Regions from separate parts of the Homo sapiens genome. Here region 2 is linked to region 1. Evidence: promoter capture Hi-C in 16 types of primary human blood cells and fetal thymus (Javierre and others, 2016). All regions are on one chromosome and are shown on one strand. The core of a region is centred on a gene start or on the middle of the fragment in contact, and the rest is flanking DNA. Distances in the headings are between cores, read along the strand shown.

The links. Contacts are between HindIII fragments. The CHiCAGO score rates a contact against its expected background, and 5 or more counts as called.
Region 2: a contact is called between a fragment that was not itself captured here and the fragment with the promoter of GTPBP4 in region 1, in 1 of 17 cell types (endothelial precursors). The highest score is 6.2, in endothelial precursors.

Annotation. Positions count from the first base shown.
Region 1 is chr10:982,497-990,147 of GRCh38, forward strand. It overlaps GTPBP4 (GTP binding protein 4), which reads left to right and starts at 5,938. Exons shown (of 17, transcript NM_012341.3): 1 at 5,938-6,031. The coding sequence starts at 5,984. It also overlaps a transcript of LARP4B not described here. The HindIII fragment of the contact is 2,419 bases long and covers 4,708-7,126 here.
Region 2 is chr10:502,328-509,829 of GRCh38, forward strand. All of the region lies in intron 1 of DIP2C (disco interacting protein 2 homolog C), which reads right to left. Among named protein-coding and RNA genes, the nearest start is that of DIP2C-AS2, 120 kb to the right of the region's middle. RefSeq lists an enhancer at 4,630-5,209. The HindIII fragment of the contact is 4,714 bases long and covers 153-4,866 here.

The sequences.
Region 1 (7,651 bases), core at 4,688-7,187:
TGAGTTGACAAGATGGAAAACACTATCTAGATAAAGCCACATATAGCAGGCAATAACATATTGCCTCAAAATATGAAATCATGAAGTTTTTACATATATACTTCTAAAATTTACTATTTAAAGTTATTAAAATTCTGTATGATTCAATTTTCTCCACCAATCACATGGCCTTCCTAGTACTTTCCCATTTTGAATGTGTTTCAACTTCTGTTTACGGAGTATTGGCATGGCAGTCTGCCACAGAAATTTTGAAAATGAGAATAGCTTAAAATAAAAAAGTGGTCTGCATTAATCCCAATGGAAAGTGAGCTATGAAGATGATCAGCTGAAACAGACTATAAGGCGAAAGGAAACAGGATAGGAGTTATTTGCTGGGTAGGGATCATTCACAAGAGTTCTTTCATGTTTTCTTAAGAGTTTGGAATTCCTACTTTGTCAGTCCCCAGGTATACTGATGCTTTAATGGAGTTTTTAAATGAATGAACATTTATGAAGGAAGACCTGCATTAGTCAATATTAGCCTGGGACAGAGGAACAGAAGAGGGGTTATTACCTTTCTCTTTATGTATTGGTCATAGGTTCGGATTTTCTAAACTTAAGTATTTTGACATTATTCGTTGTAGCATATTTGGATTAATTATCAGTTGAGCACAGATTTAAAGAGCATCTTCTTTAGATGCCAATGCAGTAGGCATCAGTACTGTTTACAGATAACTCTGTTATTCTCAACTCACTGTCCAGAAATAGGCCCATGGGAGCTGAGACGGAAACATTTAATTGTCAAATTCATTCCCCTTTCCTCAGCATAGCTATTGTCAACCTTTACTCCAGGAGTCTGCTCCCTCAATGACCATCCTGAACAGAGGCCCCTGCTGACCTATGGTGAGTATCTTAACCAGCTTGGGCTGCCATAACAAAATACCAGACTGAGTGGCTTAAACAACAGAAAATTTTCTTTTCACAGTTTTGGAGACTGGAAGGTCCAGATCAGGACACCAGCATAGTTGGGTTCTGGTGCAGCCTCTTCCTGGCTTGTGGAAAGCCGCCTTCTCTCTGTGCTCACATGGTCTCTCCTTGGTGCAAGCATGGGGTCGGGGAAGCCTGGGAGCAGCTCTCTGGTGTCTTTTCTCATAAGTGTGCTAATTCCATCAGGAGAGCTCCAGCCTCGTGACCTTTTCTGAACCGAATTACCTCCCCAAGGCTCCATCTCCAAACACCTTAACACTGGGAGACAGGGCTTTCACGTATGAATTTGGGGAGACTTAATTTGGTCCACAGCAGTGGGCGTGGAGCATCAGAGAGAAATAACTGATGCTGAGATTTGGAGACTATTTGTTATCACAGGATAATTTAGACTGTCCAGACACATACATTCTGATAGTGAATACTATTATTTTTATACTTCTATGCTTTTGTGAGGAAATAATATGTTTTTAATTAAAAATAATAGCAGGAAAGGCACTTAGCTTACTATTAGTCTAGAAGTTGGTGGCAGGGCTGGAATTGAAATTTTAAGCCTCCTCCCTCTGGAAAACGGAAATTGCTAAAGCATTATGGTTTCCTTGTGCAGACCTTCAAAATCAATTATTAAACTTGTGACAATGACGTCACATCATCAAAGTGAATTTTTTTCACTGTTTTTAACCTGAGGGTCAGACATCACAACCACCTGCTTAACCAGCTTCCAGAAACACTAAGGATTCAGATGTCTGTTGCAACATGAAACTTGTCTTTGCTTATCTCGAGTATCTTTTTGGGTACAGCACAGAATGCTAATCTTAAGAAATTCTGCCTGCAGATATTTAGAATCATTTGGAAATTGATCATACAAGCATAAGTACATGCATTCCAAATACGTGTATGATTATTATCACAAATCTTCTCTAGGAAAAGAGATCGCAAGATTTCCATTAAACCTAAAATTGTTCCTTTATGGAACAGCAGAATGCAAAGAATGTTTTTAACAGTGTGTCAATAGAATGACTCGTACTCAACCCATAGAAACACCCCTTATCAGCAGCTCTGACGTGAGCAAGGGCAGAAGTTCATTAGCACAGGTGCCTGTCATGATCCACGCACAGGAACGGAATTCTCACAGAAGAAACACAACCTGTCTGCATATGCAAACAGTGCTTTAGTGAAACACAGGTGCTGGGGGATTATTGACAGCATATGACCCCAAGTGCAATCCATCATGTACCTCCATTTAAATACCAAACAATTCATGACCAGCCTGGACAACATGGCGAAATCTCCCCTCTACTAAAAAATACAAAAAGTAGCCAGGTGTGGTGGCATGTACCTGTAGTCCCAGCTACTCGGGAGGCTGAGGCACTTAAATCTGAGAATTGCTTAAACCTGGGAGGTGGAGGTTGCAGTGAGCCAAGATCACACCATTGCACTCCAGCCTAGGCGACAGAGTGAGACCCTGTCTCATAAATAAATAAACAAACAAACAAATACCAAACAAGGTAATAACTCTACAGAGGTCAAGAACAAAGCCACTCTCGGCTGGCAGTGCAAAAGGAGAGTGGCTTTGGAGTTCCATGCGCCCTGAACGCACCTCATTGTGTCTCTCCAGCTGTGTGACGGTGAGCAAGCACTCAACCACCTCAAAGCCAGCACTCTTGTCTGTGAAACAGAGACAATCACACCCACCTCACTATGCTGTCCCGAGAAGAAAGCAAGTGACCTGGCACATGGTGGAGGCTCCCTGCATTGCAGTTGTTAAGGTTCAACGATAATTTAATGAATAGAACAAAAGTTTAGCAAATATTATTGTAACTAAGCAGCTAATAAGAACATAGATAATACATAATGCATAATTAATAATACACAATCTCTTTGCTCACTTATTAATGCCTGTAGAATAGGGTTAGTGAAAAGCTAAAATAATTCACATAAAGTATTTTTAACATGCCTGGTAGATAGTAAGTGAGCAAAGAGTGAAGAAACAGAGGCTTGGGGAAGCTGAGACATTTTCCCAGGATCACAGCGGGTGGAGCTGTATCTCAGAAATGAAGCTCACAGTCTTAACTCACTGTGTAATTCTGCAGAGAATGTCAGGCTGCACCTTTGGCCCGGAGGGTGGCTCTCATGCCATTGCTGCCTTCCACCTAAGGAGGTGTTTCCTTAGACCTCCCTGTTGACAGCTTTCCTCTTTATGGCACAGTGTGGAGTTCTGACCCACTTCAGGGTTGTGCAGAGGGGGTCTGACAGTACTGTAATTCAGTAGGACTACTTGAGTATTGCAGAAGCTTGATTCCAACCGCTACAGCCCCTACATCAGGAACTTACTCAAGCCAACATTCAATCAACGGAGTTCCACAGTCACTGTGAATGCTCTTGGCAGTGCTGCCTGAGGTGAGGGATGGCAAAAAAGTAAGACACAGTTCCTGTCCACGAAGAGCTGGCTACTTCTTTTGGAAACAAGATGTACACAAGGAAGCATCTAGGTACAAAGCAGCATGTGACTCGTTCTGAATGAGTTCCTGTGGGGATCCAGGGAAGTGGCCGACGGGCCCAATGGAGCACTCATAGGACCCTCTAAGACCGGATGCCTACTGATGGCTAATCCCCATGTAAAGGCTCCTTTCAGGCAGGAAGTTCAGTTCTGCAAAATGTACCTTTCATCCATCAGAATTACAGCAACGAGAAGGTAAAACAGAAAAGACCAAACCCACAAAATAAAAAGGTCTGAAAAACAAAGCTTTTTACTGAGAAGTGCCTCGCAGTCAGAAGCTTTGCAGAGTACCCTTGAGAGCATCCTTTACTACAGCTGAGAAGTACCTTTCTGTCACAAGGTACACACTCAGAGGCGTCCTGGCAGCTGGAACCTGCTAATGCAGTCAGGAACTGGCAATGTGCCTCGTACTGCAGGCAGCATTTGCGACACTCCTCAGAAAAGGCCTTTAGAGTTTGGCTTCCCCAGAGAAGCCCAGAAGTGTATGATAAAGAAGCTTGCTCCTAGTGGTGTAGAATACATACTTGCCCCCAAGAAGCTATACTCTGCCACAAAATCACAAGAACAGGCAAGGATGTTGATTCTCATCAACACGCACATGGTGTAAGATGCTTGGTACCTTATCATTGTTATAGCTCTGGGCCCATGATGAGTCATTATGGTTGTGCATTCACAGACATGCCTTTGTAGCTGAACAAGTTAAAAGCAGGTGGCTCATGCCTGTAATCTCTGCACTTTGGGAGGCCAAGGTGGGTGGATCACTTGAGGTCAGGGTTTGAGACCAGCCTGGCTAATATGGTAAAACCCTGTCTCTACTAAAAATACAAAATATTAGCCGGGAGTGGTGGCAGGTGCCTGTAATCCCAGCTACTTGGGAGGCTGAGGCAGGAGAATGGCTTGAACCCTGGAGGCGGAGGTTGCAGTGAGCTGAGATGGCGCCACTGCGCTCCAGCCTGCGCGACAGAGTGAGATTCCGTCTCAAAAAAAAAAAAAAAATTAAAGAAAGGATGTTTGCCCATCTGAAGCAAAGTATTGACTGGACTTATCTAAATACCGGATTACAAGAAAAAGAGGAACTGGCTATATCAGAGTGAGAGAAAGTGGGAGAGGTTGAGGAAACATACAAGAACCTAAAAGAAAGGGCAATAAGTATGAGCATAGCTTTGCTAATCTCGGAAATGGTGGCCAGAACTGTCCTGTGGTTTAGCAAATGATCATAGCCAGCAAATCCTAATTACCCTAGAAGCTTCCTTTAGAAGTGCCACAAAGATGTAGGAGGTATGCTTATCCGCCTTGTGACACAAAAATGGAAGCATAGTTAATAGATGAGAAAAGCATGACCCAGAATGATTTTCAATATTGGAATGCTGGGAATTTATGAGAGGTATTTTCGCGTAAGAATAATAGGACTTGTTTAAAAGGATTGGAGAGTGGGGGGCATCCCAGATGCGTGAGAAGCAGTATAGCTAATGGTTAGAAGCAGGTTTGCTGGAGCCAGGCTGCCTGGGTTCAAAGCCCACCTCTGCTGCCTGTTAGCTTGTCAGCTGCACAACCACGGGGTGCTTTCGAGCCTTGTGTGCCTTTGTTTCCCCATGCACTTCATGAGGCTGTTGCAGAAATTAAACGAGTTAATATATAGTCAGCAGCTCTGAACACTGCTTGACTGAGTCAGCCCTACCTAACGTTTAATTTAAGGGATGTGGCCCTGGGTTCCCAAAGGGAGCGGCCACTCTATTCACAAACATAAAAGCAGTAAAGGCTCCATCCTCATCAACCTTCTCCTCAGTTGGACCCCACAGGACTGTCTCTCGCAACTGTTCCCTGGGCTCTCCTAAGGCACTGCGCGGAACCAGCTGCACCTCTTTTGCCTTAGATCAGGCTTTCCCTTCTCCGCCCGTTTTGGGATTTAACAAGCACGAGAAAGCAGGGCTGCAGGGAAGCCGCGAGGGCCTCCTCACCACGGCCCGGGATCAAGTCCCACGCGCGAGGCCGGGGTAGGGGCGTCATCTGCTCCACACCCAGAGGCTGGGCACGCCCCGCACGCGCGGCTTCCTCCTCCTTTGCGGGGCTCGCCGCGACCCAGGACCCCCAGACTCCCGGATCCCCTAGACCCTCTGGACTCCTAAGCCCCGCAACTCCCAAATCCCAAGACCCCGGACCCTCCAACCCTGGCCCAGGGCGCGTGGCTGGGGGCCTGAACCCGCTCCAGAAACCCGCAGGGCAGTCTGTCGGAAACCCCCGCTTTACTCAGCAGGAATTTAGTCTCCGCGCTCCCCCTAAAACCCGGGCGTCCTCTCCTCTGTACCCTCGCTCCTGAGGCCCTCACACGCCCTCCGTGGCTGACCTCCAAGCCGGGCGGGTGCGCTGTGCGACGCGGAAAGCGCCGTAGAGCACGCAGAACACGATTGGCTGAGCTCCCGGAAGTGACGTACCTCAACCGCCCGACAGTGGAAGTCCCACCTGCGCCCGACGGCGGAAGTTCCGGGAGTGCCAAGTACCCGCGTGCATACGGCTGCCGGCATGGCACATTACAACTTCAAGAAAATTACGGTGGTGCCGTCCGCCAAGGTAGGCGGCCCCGGGAGGGCCACTGCAACTTTCGCGTTCTCCTCAGCTGGGTCCCCGGGGAGGGTCCGGGCCTGTAGCCGTGGGAGAGCGGTCGCCTTCCGCTCGCCCATCCCCCGCTCCTGGGCCTGACCGTCTGGCCGCGTACTCGGGATCATTTCCCCTCCCCCAGCAGAATCCGGGGTCCACCAGAGATCGGATCCCCCAGAGACCGGGGTCCACCTAAGACCGTGGTCCACCCAAAGACTGAGGGCCCCCAGAGATGGGGGTACACCCAGAGTTGGGTTCCCTGGAGGGGCCCCGGGTGACGATGTGGGCGAGTGGAGGGGGACCCCGACATGTGAGGGAGGAAGCGTTCCGTGGTCCGTGATGAGCCTTCGGATTCTGGGTTTGGCGTAGCCCCCTCCCCTCTCAGGAATCCTGGGTTCGTTGTTCTCGTGATTTAACGTTTCATAATTTTTAAGTCATTCTCTTTCACTGTTAGATTTGGGAATACCTGTTCCTTTTCAGACCATAGTAGGCCCAGACTAAATTTTTACAGCGTTGGTTGGTGTGGCAAGAATGAGTCAACAAGTGTTGAGTATTAGGACTTTTTTTTTTTTTTTTTTTTTTTGAGACATAGTTTTTCGCTCTTGTTTCCCAGGCTGGAGCGCAGTCTCGGCTCACTGCAACCTCCACCTCCCGCGTTCAAGCGATTCTCCTGCTTCAGCCTCCCGAGTAACAGGGATTACAGTCGTGCACCACCACACCCAGCTAATTTTCGTATTTTTAGTAGAGACGGGGTTTCACCACGTTGGCCAAGCTGGCCTCGAACTCCTGATCCCGGGTGATCCTCCCGCCCCGGCCTCCCAAAGTGCTGGAATTACAGGCGTGAGCCACTGCGCCCGGCCCTAGTATTAGGACTTTTAAGAAGTCACGTTTTTATGTAGTGAACATTCGATTTGGGTCGCAATTACACAGACATTGACGGGCAACTGGAGCCTCCCAGGGACTCCTGCACGAGAGGGAGTTACTGAAGTCCCTGCAGAGTGACTGTTTTCCCCTCGTCAGTGCCTCCTTTTCTTCAGGTCTCAAGGACGGGATGAGCTTGCCTTGGAAAGCTTTGTGGGAGTCTCGTATTTTACCTTCATAGCAAAAGTTGTTTCCCCACTTCTCTCCACCATTTCTTATTTCTTCCTGACAGTTGTTCTGGCACATCTCTTGATCGATTGTAGTATTTTCTTTCTTTCTTTTTGAGATGGAGTCTCGCTCTGTTGGCCAGGTTGGAGCGCAGTGGTGTGATCCTGACTGCAGCCACCGCCTCCCAGGTTCAAGTGATTTTCCTGCCTCAGCCTCCCGAGTAGCTGGGACTACAGGCATGCGCCACCAGGCCTGGCTAATTTTTGTATTTTCAGTAGAAGTGGAGTTTCACCATGTTGGCCAGACTGGTCTTGAACTCCTAATCTCAAGTGATTCACTTGCCTCAGCCTCCCAAAGTGTTAGGATTACAGGCATGAGCTACTGTGCCCAGCCAGATTGTAGTATTTTCGAGTGCAGGAGTCATGTCTTATTTGTATTTTTGGTCAACCATCTCTCAGGTTTGTTGAAGGAATTTGCTCTTTGGATTATATGAACTTTGTTCAT
Region 2 (7,502 bases), core at 1,260-3,759, 480 kb before region 1:
AACCACCATGAGTGTTCAAAGGAAAATACTTTTCAAGTGAACTGAAACAAAAATTAAAATCTATGAAATGCAGCCAAAATAATGATGGGAAGTAAGCTCATAGGACGAAAGGCTCATATTCGAAAAAAGTAAGGTCTCAGGTCCATAATCTAAGCTTCTATGTTAAACTCAAAGCCAGAAAAAGACATCATAATGAGCACAAATCAAAGAAACTGAAAACAGAAAGGAGGAAACTCAAGTCACACCAAAAGCCTACGTATAAAAATTCCCAAGGGATCTACAAAAGTCAGTCCTAGATCCAATACCTGAGTTCAGCCAAGTCACAGCACACAGTCAAAGTGTACTCTACGTATTGGCAATTAGTATTTGGGACCTAAATGTTAAAAACAACACTATTTACAGTAGCTGTATAAAAAACACTTAGGTATACATTTAACAAAGCACACAGAGGATGTGTATGAAGAAAACCACAAAACACTGAAGAAAGAAAGGAAAGAGCTACCTCAACTGAGCCACGAGTCCAAGGAGAAGCGGCAACACAGTCAAGACACCAATTCTCTCCACGTTGACCAACAGACTTACCACAACTCCAACATAAATCCCGCCAGGACACTGACCTGCGGACTTACCACAATTCCAGCATAAATCCTGGCAGGACACCGACCTGCAGACTTATTACAATTCCAGCATAAATTCCGCCAGAACACTAACCTGCGGACTTACCACAATTCCAACATAAATTCCGCCAAGACGCCTACCTGCAGACTTACCACGATTCCAACATAAATCCCGCCAGGACACTGACCTGCGGACTTACCACAATTCCAACATAAATTCCGCCAGGATGCCTACCTGCAGACTTACCACGATTCCAACATAAATCCCGCCAGGACACCGACCTGCGGACTTATCATGATTCCAACATAAATCCTGCCAGGACTTTCTGTAGATGCAGACAAGCTAAAAGTTACATGAAAGGGAAAGAAACAGGACAATAAACGTTCCAATTTAAAAACTGGCAAAGATCGAACAGACACTTCAATGAAGTGGATGGACATAATAAGCACTCGGAAACTAAAAGAACTGACCACAAAAGAGAGTGGCAGTGCTACTATACATAAATTTAACAAGCAAAATAAAACTACAAGGGAGAAACAAATGGAACCAAGGGCTACAAAGATGTATCTTAAAGCTGGCGGAAAACCATGGAAGTGTTCCTAGCCTCTTTCTCTGAGAGCACCACCTGACCATCCAGGAGTCGTCACTGACAGACCCAAAACCAGTGGGTGCTAACCACAGCTTCCACCCTGAGAGGGAAGAGTCATTTGAAGAACATCCAGCAATATTCCTTCGGCTCTTACCCCTCTGCTGTGCCAAACACCGAGTTAACGTTTGCTGGCCTCTATATGCACACTGAGGTCTGCATTTGTAACCGCATTTTTACATCTTTCAGGACAGGACAATCCTCCTTTGTCCCCTATGGTTTTCATCACGGTTCTATATACACCTGAAAATCTCTGCCGCCTACATCAGACGTTTTGTCTAAACCCATTACTGTGACTTACCCTAAATTTACAACCATTGATTTCAATTCCAAGTCCAAAGACTCATTTCCACAGTAATTATTTTACTCAGAAATTAAATTCCAGATTCCTGATCACACTTAAAGTCAACTGCTTTCAACTTCTGGGTTATAGATACAACTGGTCTAATTCTGTAACCTGAGAGGATTTCATGGAAATACTCTCTCTTCATCTCACGACACACACAGGTGGTAACTGCAGCCTTCAACCTAACTGCCTTCCTAACCAGAGCATGAAAGAGCAATAAAGAGTATTTATCCCCATCTCCTTGGGCTGGAGACCCACAGCGTATCAATCACTGTCAAATCACTGTTGTGCAAAAATCAGTTCCAACGCCCTGTGGAGAATAAAGGCCACGCTGGAAGAGGCACGCAAGGGAAACAGCCGTCTGCCATGGGGCTCCCACCCCCGAGACGGCAAATCCATGCAGGCGTGCCGAGGCTGGCCACCCGCTGATACCCTGCTACCATGGAACTATTCCAGGCACGAACTACCTGGAAGTCCTGGGAGAGAAACCCAGCACACAATGTTGCCGTCAGACCTGCAGGTGTGATCCCTAGCACAGCCACCTTAGGCCGGGAGAGCGAGGATGGGACTCAGAAGCTGCAAGATGACCATGCAGAGAAGCACCCACGGCTCCGTGACCAAGTCTGACCATGCAGAGAAGCACCCACGGCTCCATGACCAAGTCTGACCATGGAGAGAAGCACCCACGGGCTCCGTGTCCAAGTCACAAGTGACAAGATGAGACGCTTCCCGTGTTCCCATGTTCTGTCACTTTAACACTAAAAATTTAGTACATCTTACTGTTTCCTAAGAAAGCATAAGGCCTGAGTAGCAGGTGGCCGCTAACCTGGTTCTTTTCAGCTTCATAACAGAAGGCAATAGCTATATAAACCAAATCGCACTATGGCTGCATCACGGCTTTCATTGCATGTCAAACCCTCAGCTCCAGCGGTGCTGACCCCGTCATACTCAGAGAAGAGGTGAGCTCTTCAATCTCCATTTCTCAACACTCCAAGCTGTTTCCATATGAGCTCATGTGACTCTCAGTGCTAGGTTCGTTCATTCATTCATTCATTCATTCAGCAAAACCGCCGTGAACCCGCGGGATCCCCACCCTGCCCTCCAAGGGATACTATTCTGATGGGACCTGTGTCCACACCCATATTACTGCAGCCCAGCACCCTTCCCGGAACCGTGTGCATCTCCCCAAAAGAAAACTGTACAGAAAACGGCAACGGGTCCAGTCATGTTCCGAGGAGCAATTCCAATTGCTGATGTTTTAAGGCAACAGACTAATAACCGGCACCTCATCAACACAGAGTCACTAACTTCCCAGCAGTGTCTCTAGTCCCTCTACAAGGATATACAGATATACACGCAGGAGCTATCTTAGGAGGCAACAAGACGCTCTTCAGGAAACAGGAGAAAGCAAAACATTTGAGGAACGGACAGGGGCATCTCCACCTTCTACTGCCACAATTTGTGTGTTAGTGATCAAGCCAAGGTTCTCAACCTTTCCAATCTATTAACCCCCTGCCTGAGGCTCTCGACTGATCCCCAGCTGTACTTCCTGGCAATAAACAACCTGCCCAGCTGTGATTCCTGTGTGCACCTGACACCAGGGAGATGGAGCTGCCTGCCCAGCGGTGCTTCCTGTGGGTGCCCCTGACCCCACAGGAGATGGGGACCACCTGCCCAGCTATATTCCCTCTGTGGGCACCTGACACCAGGGAGATGGAGCCACCTGCCCAGCTGTGCTTCCTGTGGGTGCCCCTGACGCCACAGGAGATGGGGACCACCTGCCCAGCTATATTTCCTCTGGGTGCACCTGACACCAGGGAGACAGAGCTGCCTGCCCAGCTGTGCTTCCTGTGGGTGCCCCTGACACCACAGGAGATGGGGACCACCTGCCCAGCCATATTTCCTCTGGGCGCACCTGACAACAGTAGGATGCTGCATGTGCCTACACTGACAGCTACAGCATCATCTCCTGCTGTAAAAACTCCCTTTCAGAGGTAACAGGACAATGGGGCAGGTTTTCTCCTGGAGAAGTAAAGAAGCTGAGAAATCCAGGGGATTAGGAACGCAGGTGACAAAAGGAGGTTGTGACATCTACACGATGTCACATTTGGCAGCACAAGGGAGTGCTGGTATGTGCTGCTAGGTACTGTTATTCCCAGAACCACCTCACACTGCATGGCATTGACATGCTTCCCATGCTCGTTACCCTTCGGAAGACACATTTAAATAACCTTGACTTGCTGGGATGCAGCTGGAGAGAGATGCCTGGAGACCACCAGCCCAGAGTCAAGGCTCCATTTTCTCCTGCTTGCAGGACTTCTGCATGAAGCTAAGGCATCCAAATGTGCATAAGATTTATGAAGAGCAGACAAGCTGCATGACATCTTCTGAGAGGGAAGCTGTGCCATGTCAGGGGTTGGGACAGCAGCAGCAAGGGGGATCAGCCCAAGGCCTGGGGAGAGGCAGTTGGGAAATCTCAGTGTGTGTAGCCCTGGGGTCTGAGGCTTTCAACTGTCCATGTGGCTCCCACAGCTCAAGTCCAGCGTGTGGTCATGACCCAGGGCAGGGCCACTCACAGAGCACAGTTCATCTCAAATGTGATGGGGACGCTGAATGATACGCCAACGTACCAGAATAGAATCCCCAGTACTCACATGCAGAAGGCACTCCCAGCAACACGCATGCCTACACCACCCTGCACCAAGGGGCTGGGCACTCCTGCAGTCTGCAGCTGCCTCCTATCCCCCAACACACAGTGGCCTCCCGGGACAACATTCTATTTGCCGGCCACAGCCTGGAGCCCCCAAAGCACGGAGGAGGGGCTTAGCGAGCCACGCAACGTTCCCACCTCACACCCAGGAAACGAGCCCCTCACTGAAGTGGGTCCTGCACCCGCCAGCTGTGCATGATCAGAGGTGTGAGGTTATGGACATGGTCACACACTGTGCACAGAGGTGTGAGGTCACAGACCTGGTCACCCACTGTGCATGATCAGAGGTGTGAGGGCATGGACCCGGTCAACCACTGTGCAAGACGAGAGGCGTGTGGTCAAGGACCTGGTCACCCACTGTGCACGATAAGAGGTGTGAGGTCACGGACCCGGTCACCCATTGTGCACGATAAGAGGTGTGAGGTCACAGACCCGGTCACCCGCTGTGCACGATGAGAGGTATGCGAGGTTAGGGACCTGGTCACCCACTGTGCAGTCAGAGCCATGCGACGTTACAGACCTGGTCACCAGCTGTGCCCAATCAGAAGCTTTTGAGGTTAGGGACCTGGTCACCCGCTGTGCACAGAGGCGTGAGGTTACGGACCTGGTCACCCGCTGTGTCCAATCAGAGACGTATGAGGTTACAGACCTAGTCACCAGCTGCACACAATCAGAAGCTTTCAAGGTTAGGGACCTGGTCACCCGCTGTGTCCAACCAGAGCTGTGCGAGGTTACAGACCTAGTCACCAGCTGTGCCCAATCAGAAGCTTTTGAGGTTAGGGACCTGGTCACCCGCTATGCACAGAGGCGTGAGGTTACGGACTTGGTCACTCGCTGTGCACTATCAGAGGTGTGTGAGGTTAGGGACCCGGTCACCCGCTGTGTCCAATCAGAGGCGTGCGAGGTTAGGGACTGTGTGCGCGGTGACGGACCTGGTCATCAGCCAAGATTCCTGATGTTTCCAGTGTCATCTCAGCTTCCTTCAAAACTTGAAATCTTTAGATATTTCCCAAAAGCTCGTCCGTCTTTGAAAACGATACATATGCGCACAGGTGAGTTTGTTCCCGCACATTCCTTTCAGTACTGACGATTGAAGATCGAAGGTTAGAGCATTCCAGCCCAGTGCCCATGTCCCACCCCATCTGTGAAAACCTGAGCACAATCAGAGGCTGCAGACAATCTCTGCATCATCCTCAGAAACTGTTCCTGACCATTCACCTGAGGCCACCAAGTTTAAATGAGGGGCCCAAGTTTTAAAAGACAGGAGAAGACTTTTCCACAATCTTTTTCTGAAGACAGAGTCCATGCGTTGTATCATCAGCACCATTTGTGCCTGTCCTGGTCAGGAAGAGCTGCAACCACGTCTCTGTGCTCTTCCAGTGCAGGGTGCTGCCCTTCCCTCCCTTTCCAAGCACAGAGCAGCTCCTGATGACCCAGCACCTCTGCTCAGCCACCTTCCCCCAACGCCTTCCTCCCTCACGCCACAGAGGAGCTCGTGCAGCCAGGCTTTCTGGCTCACCACCGCGATTCAGTCACTTACACCCTCATTCCAGGCTGAAAATCTCTTCTGAAAATATCCAAATCTTACCCATGTCAGGCTCCATCTTTTCCCCAGAGCCCCTCACCCACTCCAGAGCAGCATCTCCGGTGCCCGTGCAGCCTGGGCGCAGATCCACAGGCTCAGAGTGCCCAGGCCCTCAGCCCCTCCATGTGTGCCCTTACTCCCTTGCTCCCCAGCGTTAATGCCCCCATCCTCGATTTCCTGGTAGGCAAAAGGGGGTTAATTCTAACAGTGCTTACCTAACTGGATAATTTCATACCGCATCCGGCCCAGCATACTGCCTTGATAAATGACAGGTCCTGCTGCACTGTTACCATTGTGCTGGTTCCGGATTTCCTGTGAGCCGCTAAGCTCTTCGCAGCAAAGACCACTCAATGGTCTGGTCCAGGACTCTCTGGGATGGATGGATGGGTGAGTGGCTGATGGACAAGTGTGATGCTGAATGGGATCATGCAAAGCTGGCCCCACGTATTTTGGTCAACGTAAGAAAAAAGCCTCCCATGTTTGCTTGCTGCCACCCTAACCGCAGCGTCCAGAAGAAGCCACTTAAAGGCAACTGTACCGCACATACAGGAGATGGCGAGACGAGACTGGCTGGAGATGGGAAGTTGTGTACTACTGATCAGGGCTGCATGACCCAAAAAAGGCATCACTCGAAAACACGGCTGTTCCAACAGCAGTGCTGGAAGGCGGCCACTCTGACCCGACCGTCCACCTCCAGGGTCAGCCACCTGGCACCTCTTGGATGTCTCATCCTGGGCACCCCTTCACAGAGTAAATGAGCCTTTTAACTTCAGCCTGTCCTCGCTAGAACACTGACTCCCACCTCCCATGTCCTGAACCGGCCTGTTCCAGGGACTGCTGTGGACAGACGAGCAGGCCCAAGATATCTAGTGGCATTTCCTGGCAAGGACACTCACGATGCTTGACCATACAACTAGGGGTCGATTGGTTTTTTAGACTGACTGTAATTCCCTGGTGGCACGCGTGGATACTGATTCACCCGGGGAGGGGCATAGAGGAGACTGAAGGAAAACCCGTCCTAACCGCGCCAGGTATTCCCGCACGCACCGATATCTTCAGACTTCTGCAGCATCCTCCTCCTACAGACAAACTGAAGCTCAGAGACACTAAGGAGCTTGTCCAAGACCAGCAACAAGTATGTGAGCAGCTGGGATTCAACCAGGTCCTTCCCTGGATCCATCCGCGCTGCTCCCCCTCCCACCCCGAGGCAGCTCCAGATGGACACAGCAGGTCGGAACATCCCACACCCCAAAGACAGACTACGGAGCAGAGCCGGCTTCCGCAGCGGAAACTCACACACAGCCCATTCCCATTCTTGCCGAATATCTCAGGGACTCTGTGCGGTAAGGGCTGCAGGTGTGACCTCACTCTGCGCCAGGAGATCCGGGTGGTAGGCAGTGTTTTGGAGGGTGCTCGTCCAGACGAGAGAGAGGCATCTAAGGGGGCTCATAAGCAGATCCATGAGACACAGGACACCTCAGAGAAGGGCCGACAAACCCCACAAAGTCGCTCCCATCCTGGAGAGCAGCTTGGAGAGGACGGGGCGCCGCAGTCTCCTCCCAGCCCACGCTTCGGCATGGAGAGCAGCTTGGAGAGG